Linked DNA regions of Homo sapiens: region 2 is linked to region 1. Evidence: promoter capture Hi-C in 16 types of primary human blood cells and fetal thymus (Javierre and others, 2016). All regions are on one chromosome and are shown on one strand. Each heading gives the region's core, a stretch centred on a gene start or on the middle of the fragment in contact. The rest is flanking DNA. Distances are from core to core; before and after follow the strand shown. Region 1 holds the start of HIPK1 (homeodomain interacting protein kinase 1). Region 2 overlaps CSDE1 (cold shock domain containing E1).

The links. Contacts are between HindIII fragments. The CHiCAGO score rates a contact against its expected background, and 5 or more counts as called.
Region 2: a contact is called between a fragment that was not itself captured here and the fragment with the promoter of HIPK1 in region 1, in 1 of 17 cell types (monocytes). The highest score is 5.8, in monocytes.

The regions. Positions count from the first base shown.
Region 1 is chr1:113,925,519-113,931,681 of GRCh38, forward strand. HIPK1 (homeodomain interacting protein kinase 1) reads left to right here and starts at 3,806. Exons shown (of 16, transcript NM_198268.3): 1 at 3,806-4,014. It overlaps HIPK1-AS1 (HIPK1 antisense RNA 1), which reads right to left and starts at 4,007. Exons shown (of 3, transcript NR_110726.1): 1 at 3,844-4,007; 2 at 2,726-2,870. RefSeq lists an enhancer at 3,717-4,036 and silencers at 4,157-4,206, 4,227-4,536. The HindIII fragment of the contact is 2,173 bases long and covers 2,719-4,891 here.
Region 2 is chr1:114,746,978-114,753,140 of GRCh38, forward strand. It overlaps CSDE1 (cold shock domain containing E1), which reads right to left. Exons shown (of 20, transcript NM_001007553.3): 2 at 2,844-3,230. Among named protein-coding and RNA genes, the nearest start is that of CSDE1, 7.9 kb to the right of the region's middle. The HindIII fragment of the contact is 3,487 bases long and covers 1,224-4,710 here.

The DNA of each region.
Region 1 (6,163 bases), core at 2,556-5,055:
AAGAAAAGCTGAGGAACTGTGCCAGATTAAAGAACACTAAAGAGACATGACAATTAAATGTAATATATGATCCTAAACTGGATCTTGTGCTGGAAAATAAAAAAAATGCTAAGAATGATGTTATTTGATCAACTGACAACATTTGGAACATGGATGGTAAAGTATTACAGCAATGTTAAATTTCCTGGAGTTGTTAATTGTATGTATTTTGTTTACATAAGAGAATGTACTTATTAGGATATTCAAGTATTATGTGGTAAAGGAGGATGATGCATGCGATTTACTTTTAACTGCTTGGAAAAAAAAATATGTACGTGGGCTGGGCACGGTGGCTCACACCTATAATCTTAGCACTTTGGGAGGCTGAGGTGGGTGGATTGCCTGAGTTCAGGAGTTCAAGACCAGCCTGGGTAACACGGTGAAACCCCGTCTCTACTAAAATACAAAAAAATTAGTCAGGTGTGACAGCGGGCACCTGTAATCCCAGCTACTCGGGAGGCTGAGACAGGAGAATCGCTTAAACCCAGGAGGTGGAGGTTGCAGTGAGCCGAGATCATGCCACTGCACTCCAGCCTAGGTGACAGAGTGAGACTCTGTCTAAAAAAAAAAAAAAAAAAAAAAAAAAAAAAGGCATGTATGTGTGTAATATAACTCTATCTATCTATAACTGCAAATGATAAAGCAAAAGGGGCAAGATGTTAATAATCTGGGTCCTCTTTTTGTCACTCTTGCAACATATCTGTATGTTTAACATTATTTCCAAATAAAAAGTATTCTGGGGTCTGGATTTTTAAAAAATCATTGAGGTTCTCCTCCTGTTGGCTCAAGGGACTTTTCTGCTTTTTATCGTTTACTGCAGACCTTCACTCTAATCTGGTTTTCCCAGTTTCACAACCTGTTGGCTTCTATTTAAATTCTCTTTTTTTTCCTAGCCCCTAGGATTCACTATTTGTTTGAATAGTTTGCCTAGCTTTTTGGTTCAGCTTCTCTCAAGACACAGCCTTCTCATCAGCTTCTCCTATTTGGCCTTAAGCACTGCCGCTCTTGGGCAAATGACTTCTTGCCTGCAACACTGAATCTAGGCTGTAGGCCCTAGAAGGATGTCATACCCTGAATGAAACTTGAATGCTTCCGATTGCTAACTGCTCCACCTCCCTCTCCAGTTGCTCTGACTTGGTTTAGGAGGATGTATTTCACATATCTGCCCCTTCTCGCCTTCTTTCCTGTGTAATCAAACCCTCATCATAGTTTTCTGATTAGGATCCCTTTCTCCAGTCTTTACCCACTCCAGCTAGCCCTCTTCCTTCACCATCACTAGTTCTCTCTCACATTACCTGTCTGAATAAACTTCTTTTTTGAGACAGAGTCTGGCTCTGTTTGCCCAGCCTAGACTGCAGTGGCACGATCTCGGCTCACTGCAACCTCTGCCTCCCGGATTCAAGCGATTCTCCTGCCTCAGCCTCCCGAGTAGCTGGGATTACAAGCATATGCCACCATATCTGGCTAATTTTTGTATTTGTAGTAGAGATGGGGTTTCACTGTGTTGGCCAGGCTGGTCTTGAACTCCTGACCTCCAGTGATCTGCCACCTTGGCTTCCCAAAGTGCTGGGATTACAGGCATGAGCCACTGTGCCTGGCTACCTGTGCGAATAAACTTCTAACAGCTCTACATTGCCTTTCAAAATCTGACTCAATTTACCTTACTACTTCCAAATCGTGCAACTTCTCTGCTTAACTGTAAGCTCCTTCAGGGCACAGACCATGCCTTTTCTTCTGTGTATCCTTAATTTCTTTTTTTTTTATTTCTTTCTTTCTTTCTTTTTTTTTTTTTTGAGACAGAGTCTCACTGTCGCCCAGGCTGGAGTGCAATGGTGCAATCTCGGCTCATGGTAGCCTTCTTCTCCTGGGTTCCAGCGGTTCTTCTGCTTAAGCCTCCAGGGTAGCTGGGATTACAGGCATGCGCCACTACACTTGGCTAATGTTTGTATTTTTAGTAGAGACGGGGTTTCACCATGTTGGCCAGGCTGGTCTCGAACTCCTGACCTCAGGTGATTCACCTGCCTCAGCCTCCCGAAGTGCTGGGATTACAGGCATGAGCCACCACACCCAGCCCCTTAATTTCTTATATAGTGCCTAGCACACAGAAGATGCTCTATAAATAGTTACTGAATGGACAAATGACTAAACTTTGAAACTTCTTTGACCTTACTATGCTCAAATATCACTTCTGATGTTCTTCTCCGACTCTCTCACTTATCTTATATATGTCTGCACACGTTTTTTCCTCATTAGACTGTAAGGTCCCTGAGGGAAAAGACCATGCTTTATTCACCTGTCTCATTCATACCTGACCCAGTGTCTAGAAGAGTGTATAGCACAGAGCAGGCACACAAGCAGTTTGCTGGATGAATGAGTGAATGATACTAAAGAGGAGAAAATACAGACTTTAAGAAGCTCTCCGTATAGTGAGAAAGACTGAGGACCTAAGAGCAATGAAAATAGAAGTTAACAAGTATAAATAAAGAAGGTACAGGTTAATTTAAGTAATCAGATGATGATGCAGAATTCAAATAAAATAGGAGTCAATCAGCAAAGGTTCCCGAAAGGGTGAATTCTGAGAGATATTTGAAAAGAGGAAAGGGACATAACTTGAGAGAGCAGGAGTTTAGGAACATGTCAGAGAGTTAGGTTGAACCAAGGCATGATAAACATGTTTGAAGCTTACATTCTGAGCAGGATCTGTTCTACCCAGACCACAGGTTTCTGCCTTTTTTTCTGGCTCATCAAGCAGGCATGTTTACCCACTCTTTTTATCTTCATGTTTCCCAGGTCAGCCCAATGTGAGGACTTTAAGTAGTAGAAGGAAGTTTCTGTGAAAATATGCAAACAAAACTGCCTTGTGGGATCGAACATTTTTGGTAACCCTAGTTCTCTAGGGAAATAAACTTCCCTGTTCCAGATAAAATGGAACTGCTCCCCGTGTTGTTAAGCCAGAGAGAAAGCCAAATGACTTCCCTTAAAAGGTACTTCAGCGCATTTTACACAAATCATAGTTTTCTGTGTGTGTTATGGGGATCCAAGGAAATCAAAGATGTTAATGAGTGAGATTTGAGAAACAAAACTTGATAGTAGAATTTTGTCTTAGCCACAACTGCCCTTCTCCTCACAGAGTATATGCAAATACCGATGGTGACGGACAGTCACTTTCTAGAGCTCAGATCACTGCTGCCTCCAGCACTTGTGGGATGGAAAAAATGAAGAAATTACAGTTGCCCTAAAAATGTCCCCCACTTCAGGAACCTGAATATTTTACACAGCAGGAGATACATCGGAAGTCCTACAGAATCTCTTGACTTTGGGAGATGCAACTGCTTTTCTATTAGGATAACCTAATTTTCTGTGTCCATTTTCTCAGAATGTTGTGCCCAACGCGTTCTGTTTCCTAAATACCCAGCCTTCCTTCTGGTAGAGGCAAGAAAATTATGCTAGCATTCGCTCACTGCATGTTTTGAGCGTTTGAGTTCAGAGTACAGCTATTCTCTCTCCTCGTAATGTAAACACAGGTTCCCACGGCGGCAATGGGAGACTCCCCTAAGGGGCTCTTGACGTACAGGGAGACTTCCAGATATGGTACACAGATGTCACATTGCTAGAACGTCTCTAGACGGCAACGAAACATTAAAGCCTAACCTGAGGTAATCCCTCACCGGCAGTGAAGCTCCTCTGCTAGGCACTGTCGTCCCGTACACTGCCCAAGCTCTGGGGGTGTCACACTAAACTGTGGTGATGTCACACTAGCTGGGATGACATTTTACAGTTGGATCCCGTACCACCGCCAGGCACCTTTAAATCACCGCAGAGTCTGCAGTGCGGAGGGGGCGGGAAGTCCAGGCCCCGCACTCGATCCACGCTGGCTCCCTACGGAGGCCCACCTACTCGAGGCCCACCGACTCCTACTGCAATCAGTACTATGCGATCGTCCTAGAGAGTCCATTCAGCTGCACTTCCGCCTCAGTAGGTGTCATGGCGCGGGGCGGGTGAATAGTTCCGGCGAGGCGGGGCCGGCCGGGTTGAGGGACGGCCGCTCGGCATTCCGTTCGTCGGGTCTGGCGACAACGGCGGCTGCGGAGCAAGGGGCCCGGCGGTAGCCCCGGACGGCAGCAGGAGGCCGAGGCGGGAGCGCGCGGGGCTGAGGCGGCGGCGGCGGCGGCGGGAAGGGGCTGGGTGGTGGAGCGGGAGGGAGGCTGAGGAGGCTCCCCCTGCGGGACGGGCGCGGGGACGGCTCCGGGGGGCGGGGGCCGGGGCCCGGGCCGGCTCGCGCGGGGGGTATGATGACCCGGCTGCGGGGCCCCAGATCTCGTCTCCTCCGCCGCCTCCTCACGGCAGCCCCAGCTCGCGGCTGAGAACCAGACACACCGGCGGTGAGTGGGGACGGGCAGGAGGGGTCCTCGGCGGGGAGCGACTTCCCCTCAGCTCCCTGAGGCGGGGCCGGGCCGGCCGCCGGCTCTCCTGGAGCGCCCAGCCTGCCGGGGGCGCCTTCCTCAAAGGGCCCCTGCCTGGGACCGGGCGCCGCGTCTTGCGGCCCGGCCGCTCACTGCCGCTGAGGGGATTGCCTTCCCAGGAAGGTGGGGAGGCTCCGGGCTGGTTTTCGGGGCAACTCCCCCTGCCTCCTGCCACTTCTCGCCTGGGCGTGTTGTCCTTAAGTGACAGGGGACCGCCTTGCGTCTCCTCACTCGGCCGGTTTTTTCCCCGGCTGTCGTGGCAGGTTCCCAGTGTGTGGCTTGTGCGTGTGTACTTCACAGCTCCGCTTATCACCATGGTTTTGGGTTATTTGTGCTGTTTGGGACCAGGAAGCCGTGCCTGGAGAGGACGACAGTGGGGTGGGTGTGGAAGCTTTTCTGTCGTCTCCGCTGATGTTCTGTAGTCGTTAGGCTTGTAATTCGTAATGACGGTGGAGACTACGTGAGACCAGCCCACCTAATGTATATCTGTACAAGGGAGATCTAGAGGTCTGGCCCAAAGGGAAACTTTTGCTGCCACCACTTTCAAAGCTTTCGTTAAAAAAACAAAAGGGAGGGGGAAGGTGGAGAAACAACCAAAATTCTGGTAAGGCCCACACTGTTCACAGGTCTGTGGGGAAGAGTCCCCTTTTTGTGCTTAGCAACCAAGACGTGGAGTTCCGTCTCCAGGAGCGTTGGTCTAACCTCCAGTTTGTTGTGGTGACGAGCTGTGAGCAATGGCCTGTGTTTATGCTGGGCGAGCTTTCTTTCCTACTTGGGGAGGGGGGTTCAGGATGGGAGGATGCGGGTAGGGAAGAGGGGGGGAAAACCCCCAAGCTCCAGTAAGTCTTTTCTTTACTTAATCACTGATTCTGTTGTAGGTAGACTCATTTAGAGGCAGTCCTAGATGCTCTTTCTTGTCTATTAGTGACACTTTGGGAATTCTCAGTAATTGCATCAACATAATACTTTCAGCTATAGACTCTCTGTCCCAATCTGTCCTTTATCTTGTTTCTTAGTAACTGGTGAAAACAGCAGTGTGGCTTCCCGCTCTTGATGAAATAGGGTTAAATTAAGTGGCTGATGCCCTCAGCAAACCTACAATTTTCCTTTTGTTTGTGTAAAGCTATTTTTGATCTCTGGTCTGTGGGTTTTTTTTTTTTTTTTGTAAGATTATAGAGAATGCAAACTATTACTAGCTTTTTTCATATGGAAGCCTAAAGCTTTCTATAAAACATTTTAAAATCTAACAAATCATTTGACCTAATTTTCATTATTCAGCTGGTGATTTTGGATCTTTACATGTAATTATCTCAGGGTTCTGTGTTATAATACTGTTATGATGAAGGGTGGCATTGACTTTAAGATACTGTTCCTGGCTTGAAAGATATTTTAGTAAAGTACTTGCGGTTGGAACTGGAGGCAGCCAAGCCAGTAAAGTATCTTAGAATAAAATGGTGAATGAGATCTTATAAATATACTGGCTCTGGTTGGCAAGTAGAACTTTTGCTGGTGATACCTTCATGAATAGTTTATCTCTCGACACTGTAGTTTTGTGGTTTTTTGAGCAAGTTCGTTGGTAACTTGAGACTTCAAACCAAACCAGAACTTCCTTCTAAAAGAAAAAAAAAGAAGAGATAATCTCAAAGTTCACAATTCTTTGG
Region 2 (6,163 bases), core at 1,717-4,216, 820 kb after region 1:
TGGGGCCTCAGTTTTCTCTTGCTTTGCTATGTTTCAAGTATGAAAATTATTGCATTCAGCAGAAAAAACTAGGAGCGCGACAGGAATTTTCTAGTTTTGCTTTTCTCTTGTCTGTCACCTTTAGACTAACCTGGATCAAATCATTCACCAAACAATTCAGGTCTATTTTCACATCTCAAACAAATGCTTTATAAGCCTTATTCTTTCTTGCCATTTTATGGCTAATTCTACCCTTCTATATATATTTGTTCCTAATTACGTACTATTTTTACTGATTTTACAAAACCCCCCTTTAAAATCTGGGGGTTCCATTGCATTACCAAATCTGTTTTCTTAGCTGTGTGCCCCCTTTAACTGAACTATTTCACAACTGTACAACCACAGCCATGTTTTACTGCCAATAATCTTCATCCCAATTGTGGTTTCTTTGTACATATGTAAACATGTAATTTTTAGACAGCTATGGATGCATTTATATATTAAAATGTTCATGTAGTAAACTAATATTCAGAATACAAAGATTACACTAAACAAAAAGGACTTCGTTAAATCTATTTCTATAAATCATGTCAATGAAATGAAAGCCTTAATATCTAATCTTGCCAGGCACGGTGGCTCATGCCTGTAATCCCAGCACTTTGGGAGGCCGAGGCGGGTGGATCACAAGGTCAGGAATTCAAAACCAGACTGGCCAACACGGTGAAACCCCGTCTCTACTAAAAATACAAAAATAAGCCAGGCATGGTGATGCGCGCCTGTAATTTCAGCTACTCAGGAGACTGAGGCAGAAGAATCACCTGAACCTGGGAGGCAGAGGCTGCAGTGAGCCAAGATCACCCCACTGCACTCCAGCCTTGGCGACAGAGCAAGACTCTGTCTCAGAGAGGAAAAAAAAAAAAATCTAATCTTTTATGCTTCAGAACATAAAATTGTGGTTTCAATTTGTGTTAATCTTCCCTATCTAATCCAACAGAATCCACAACAATTAGTCTAAAATTATTTTTTAAAAATCAGCTAAGGTAAGAAGAAACAAATAGAAAAACTAAATGCTACAATTACCTTAAAATTAAATAACAGTGTCTGTTTATGAGACATAGATAATTTTACTATAGTTTTTAGTTGTTAAGGAATAATTCTAGTGCACAGCAAGGTCACTGACACTATTACATAATCCTTCAATAAATTGGAAATAAAGTCCTAAGCGCTTCTTGAAATAGCAGTGAAGCTTTTGTAACTGAATGACTTATTTTCATTCTTCATTTTATTTGACCTCTGTAGCATCTAAAAAAATGTTTACCATTGACTTCCTGAAATTATCGTTGGTGCTTTTTCCTGACTTCTATGTCTTTGCTCTCTTCATTGGTGCTTCTTCCTTTTATTACCTATACACTGATGACTCCTTTCTGAATTCCTTTATGTCTAACTTTAGAAAATCTGGAAACTAAAGATTAAAAAGGAAAATTGCTCTTCATAAGCCTACCCTCAAAGTTAACCACTGTTCAATATTCCATACTAGTGTATTTCCTTCAACTTCAGATTGCTATCTAATGAACACAATAGATTTCCATAACATATTTTAATATCAGTAAGTTACTACTCTAACTTCCCTATTCCTATGAACAATGAAGGTTTCTAGTTTGCACAACTGGATTTGATAAAGCCATTCTCTCCACATTTATCTTCAGATTCAATTGGTCCCCAAGTCCTCACTTCTAAATCATCAGAACACCTAGCACCTACCTTTTTCTCTACCTACACCTTAGCTTTTATCTTCCTTATACTTGATCCACTGCTTTTGACAGGTCTTCCCATCCTCAGCCTTTCCCTCAAAAGTGTCACCATTTGTCTTTTAAAGGTACACTTCTGAATATTACTTTAAAATGTGAAGCAATAAAGCTATCTTACTTTTGGGGGAAAAACCCTTAAGCCCTTGCTTATAGACATCTGATGGCTCTCCTACGGAATAAAGACAAATGCATTGGGCCAAGCCTCCAGCAAACTTCCCTTTCATAACTCTCCCGCAAAATTATATTCTCTACTCTGTTCATAATGAACAACTTAATATATACCATGTGCTTTCACGTAGCCCTGAATCTGCTAATTCTGTTACCTCTATACCTCTACCAATGTCTCTTCTACCTCTTAACAAGGTACTACTCACCTTCAAATATCCCTTTTCTGTAGGCTTTCTTTACCCTCCTCCTTACCTCCAAGGGAACAGCTTCAGTTATATTCTTAATATTTTATTAGTATCTTTTAGCCTATATTGTGATATTGTGTAACAAATTGTTCTAAATCATTAAGTCCATTAGTATCTTATTCATTCGTTATATTTCAGCACTAGCAATGCCTAACAATACAGTAGGCATGTCAACCATTTACAAATGTGCACTGTATACCGTTCACAAATATGCACTGCAAATGTAGGCATGGATATAAAGTAAGGTTCTTTCCTCAAGAAGCTAACATTGAAGACAGTAGAGAGAAAGAAACAGACGTCAGTAGCAAATATCACCAAAGTTTCACAGACCCTCATAGAAAGACTGCAATGCACATTCTTATTTGAAATCCTAACTTCTAAATAGTACAGACGGAGCTTCTCTAAGAGACCAGCAAGTCGAGAGATCAGCATGTATTAATATAATCTGGTATGAAAAATGTTTGACCATAAATACTGTCCTTATCTAACAAGAGATAGTGTTGATATTTCATACTAGTTGAGAATAGAAAAACTGTCTTCTGAATACCTTTAGAAAAGAACAAATAAAGATTTTATATTTGACCAAATAATCAGGAAATCTAGAATTATGGAACTGATTCTTAATAGGAAATTACAAACCTACCTCGCAGTGATACTCAAATATTGCACTTTCAGTAGTATTTGCTGATTCTTCTTTTTCAGCACACGTTTCAAAGGATGAAAGTTGCTAGTATTAAAAAAAAGAGCGAGAGAAAATGATCTACCAAGCTAATAAAGAATACAACTGCTGCTGTACCGGGCAATCTCACAGTACAGCACTGAAGAAAACAAAGACTACTAGCAGCGTTGGGAAGTGCTCTTTCAAAGCTGTTGAGTAGGCACAAACTTCTTGTTTCAGATCAAGTGTTGTGTCTTCAACTTAAGTGTACTCTTCTTTGGTCTTGTTAGTTGTTACGAGGTTTGTTCCTTGCCTGATCTGAACTTGAAGCAGCAGTTTCAGGTGGTAAAGTCTGTTCTGTTACACTTCATACTAAAGGTAAAAAATGAAGACATTAAGTATAACATACATAAAATAATCAGGGACAGTGGGTGAGAAGAGGGACAAACTCATTTCATTAACTTAGAATCATGGGTCATGCAAGTAATGCAGGAAACTTGGAAGCATGCTCATCTGATGTTATTTGGAGCAATCTCTCAAGTACTAGCAACTACCTCCTTTGGTATCTCATACCCAAGACCTCAAATTATTCCATAGTCTTTATTGACCTCTTCCCCCAAATAAGCTCAGTTACATGGCATAATGTTTAATTTAGTGCAAGTATTTTATAAGGATCTAGCTCTGTGGAAAACATAAAAGAAGTCCCTGCCATGAGAGCATAGACAATCTTGCTGAAAAGACAAGATGTAAACATGGAAAAAAAAAACAGAGTATAGGACAAAAATGCCAAAAATTATTTTGCTCAATTAGTATCTAGGTATCTATTATGTCACAGACTATCTAGAAATATTATTTATTGTTTATCCACAACTGCATGTCCATCAAAGCAACCAAGGCTTTTAAATAAGTGGAATTTGAAGTGAACCTGGAAAATCAGGCAGAATTCTAGGAGAAAGAAAATAGCTGAGTATTCTAGGCATGAAACAGCACATAAGTCAAGCGAGAATATGCCACTAAATTCTTTCTTCAGAGCAGCGACCATGCATTCTATGATTTTCTAAGCCCAGCATCAAGTGAAGTCTTCTGCATGAATGCCTGTGGCAACATGTGTGGCTTGTTGTTTCAGAGGAAAATCAACAGGCTAGCCTGGCTAGAACAGAGAGCTGGGCTGAAGTGAAATAGGATATGTAGTGTGACAGGTGTAGCGGAGCCCGATTATGAAGCATTTCAACGTGATGTAACAGGAAACAGTGCCTTAGTTTTTGATGAAAGTGGTATTAAGTCTTGAAATCCTAAAGGAGATGACTTAGTAAGCAAACAGAAATCTCATTTGCACTGCTGCAGTAAATAGATGAGAAATGTCTATAGAAGAGAAATAAAATTTATTTATCAGTAAAAATCACATTTCTGCTTTATATTAGCTATAAAATAAACAACAATTTTGCACTGACTCCAAAGTTACAAAATGGTGTTAACGAAAATTATTTCTACAGAGATAAGAAAAAGGTGTACGTGCTGAGAAATGGATATTTGAAAACATCAGAAGAATGATTATCAGGTGAGAGGTCAGAGCTGATTAAATAGCTCAGACCAGAAGAGCCTAATCGCAATCACTGGTACTAGTAAATACCATGAACAAGTTATTTAATCTCTCTAAGTTTCACTTTCCTCACATGTAAAATAAAAACTCAATAACAGCTGATCTGGCCATTTTCTATTCTCTAACATCCCATGTTCCTTCAAATATCAAATGTTACATACACTTGTCTGATCTTTCAACTTTATTTAGATCATTCTCCTATTACCCAGACTAGATATATGTCTCAGGGTAATGGTGCTCAAATACTTGGGAAGCTTTAAAAAAAAAAAAACAAAAACAAACCTATGCCCAGCCTCCACTCAGAGTAATACAACTGGTTTGAGGTAGGGCCACTTCTTTAACTATCTTGATTCTTCCCCTCTCCATCACCATACCCAATGTTGCAAGTTGTGTTAGTATTTCCCTCGCTATATCTTTTGTATTCATCTCTTATCCTACTAAGTGACATATTTTAGCTCAGGTGTCTAATATATCCGCCAACTTCCAGTGTGCACACTTTCCATTTTCTGTCACATACCACCACCAGACTATCAAAAACTTGAATTTTGGCCAGGTGAGTTGGCTCACGCCTGTAATCCCAGCACTTTGGGAGGCCTTGGCAGGAGGTCTGCTTGAGCCCAGGAGCTCCAGACCAGCCTGGGCAACGTGGAGAAACCCCATCTCTACTAAAAATACAAAAAATTAGCCAGGCATGGTGGTATACGCCTGGAGCCTCAGCTACTTAGGACTGGGAAGTCAAGGCTGCAGAGAACAAGATAGTGACACAGCACTACAGCCTGGGAGACAGATCAGAACCTTGTCTCAAAAAACAAAACAAAACAAAAACTCTCCAATTTCATTTCTCATCTCCCCTGTCAAACATCTTCAGTTATTTTTCCACCATTCTAGATGGGAAGTTTTTAATCCTGGCTATCCACCCACCCCCAGCAACCTTAAACAAACAAACAAACAAAAACCAACAAAATCAAAGCCTGAGTCCCGTACAAAGATTCTAAATTTAACTACACTAGGTTAGGTGCCAGGCCTTGTTATCTCCCCCCAACCCCTGCTCCAAGTGTTTCTGACTTCCAGCCAGGATTAAGAACTACTATTCCAGGTGTCTCTATTCTACCTTCCATCCTTACTCTCTACTGTGTTCCAGTTCTACCAGAAGTCCATTACCTCGCCTAATCCTTAAACACAACTCTTGGGAGATTCCTGAATTCTAGCCACCTTTGCTTATATGGGTCTTCCCACAAAAAAATACTATGTTGTGATCTTCAAGGTGACAAAAAAGCCTTTCTTGACCATTCCAGCAGACTCATTCATTAATTCCTACTAATGAATGGGGCAGTAACATCCACTGCCTGCACCAAGCAATTTGCAGCAAGTGATACCAAGCAATTTCTGTACTTTGTTTACTTCATGTTTTTATGTATCTTGTTCCTCCAATTCTATTTCAAATTTCTGAGAGGTAAACTCAAATTTCTTTATCACAGCCTCCTTTCGCACCTAATCCAGTGCTGCCATATACAACCAAAGGAAAAAGGTAGTTAATCCTTAATAAGCAAAAGGACGCCACAATTCAAGTGTAAACAGTTATGCCACAATTCAAGTGTAAACAGTTATACCACCTTTAATTATATAGTTTTAATTATCCAATCAAGAAATAATCTCTTCTTTAAAAAATACAGACTGTGTATATTGGTTTTATCTTAATGCTTTA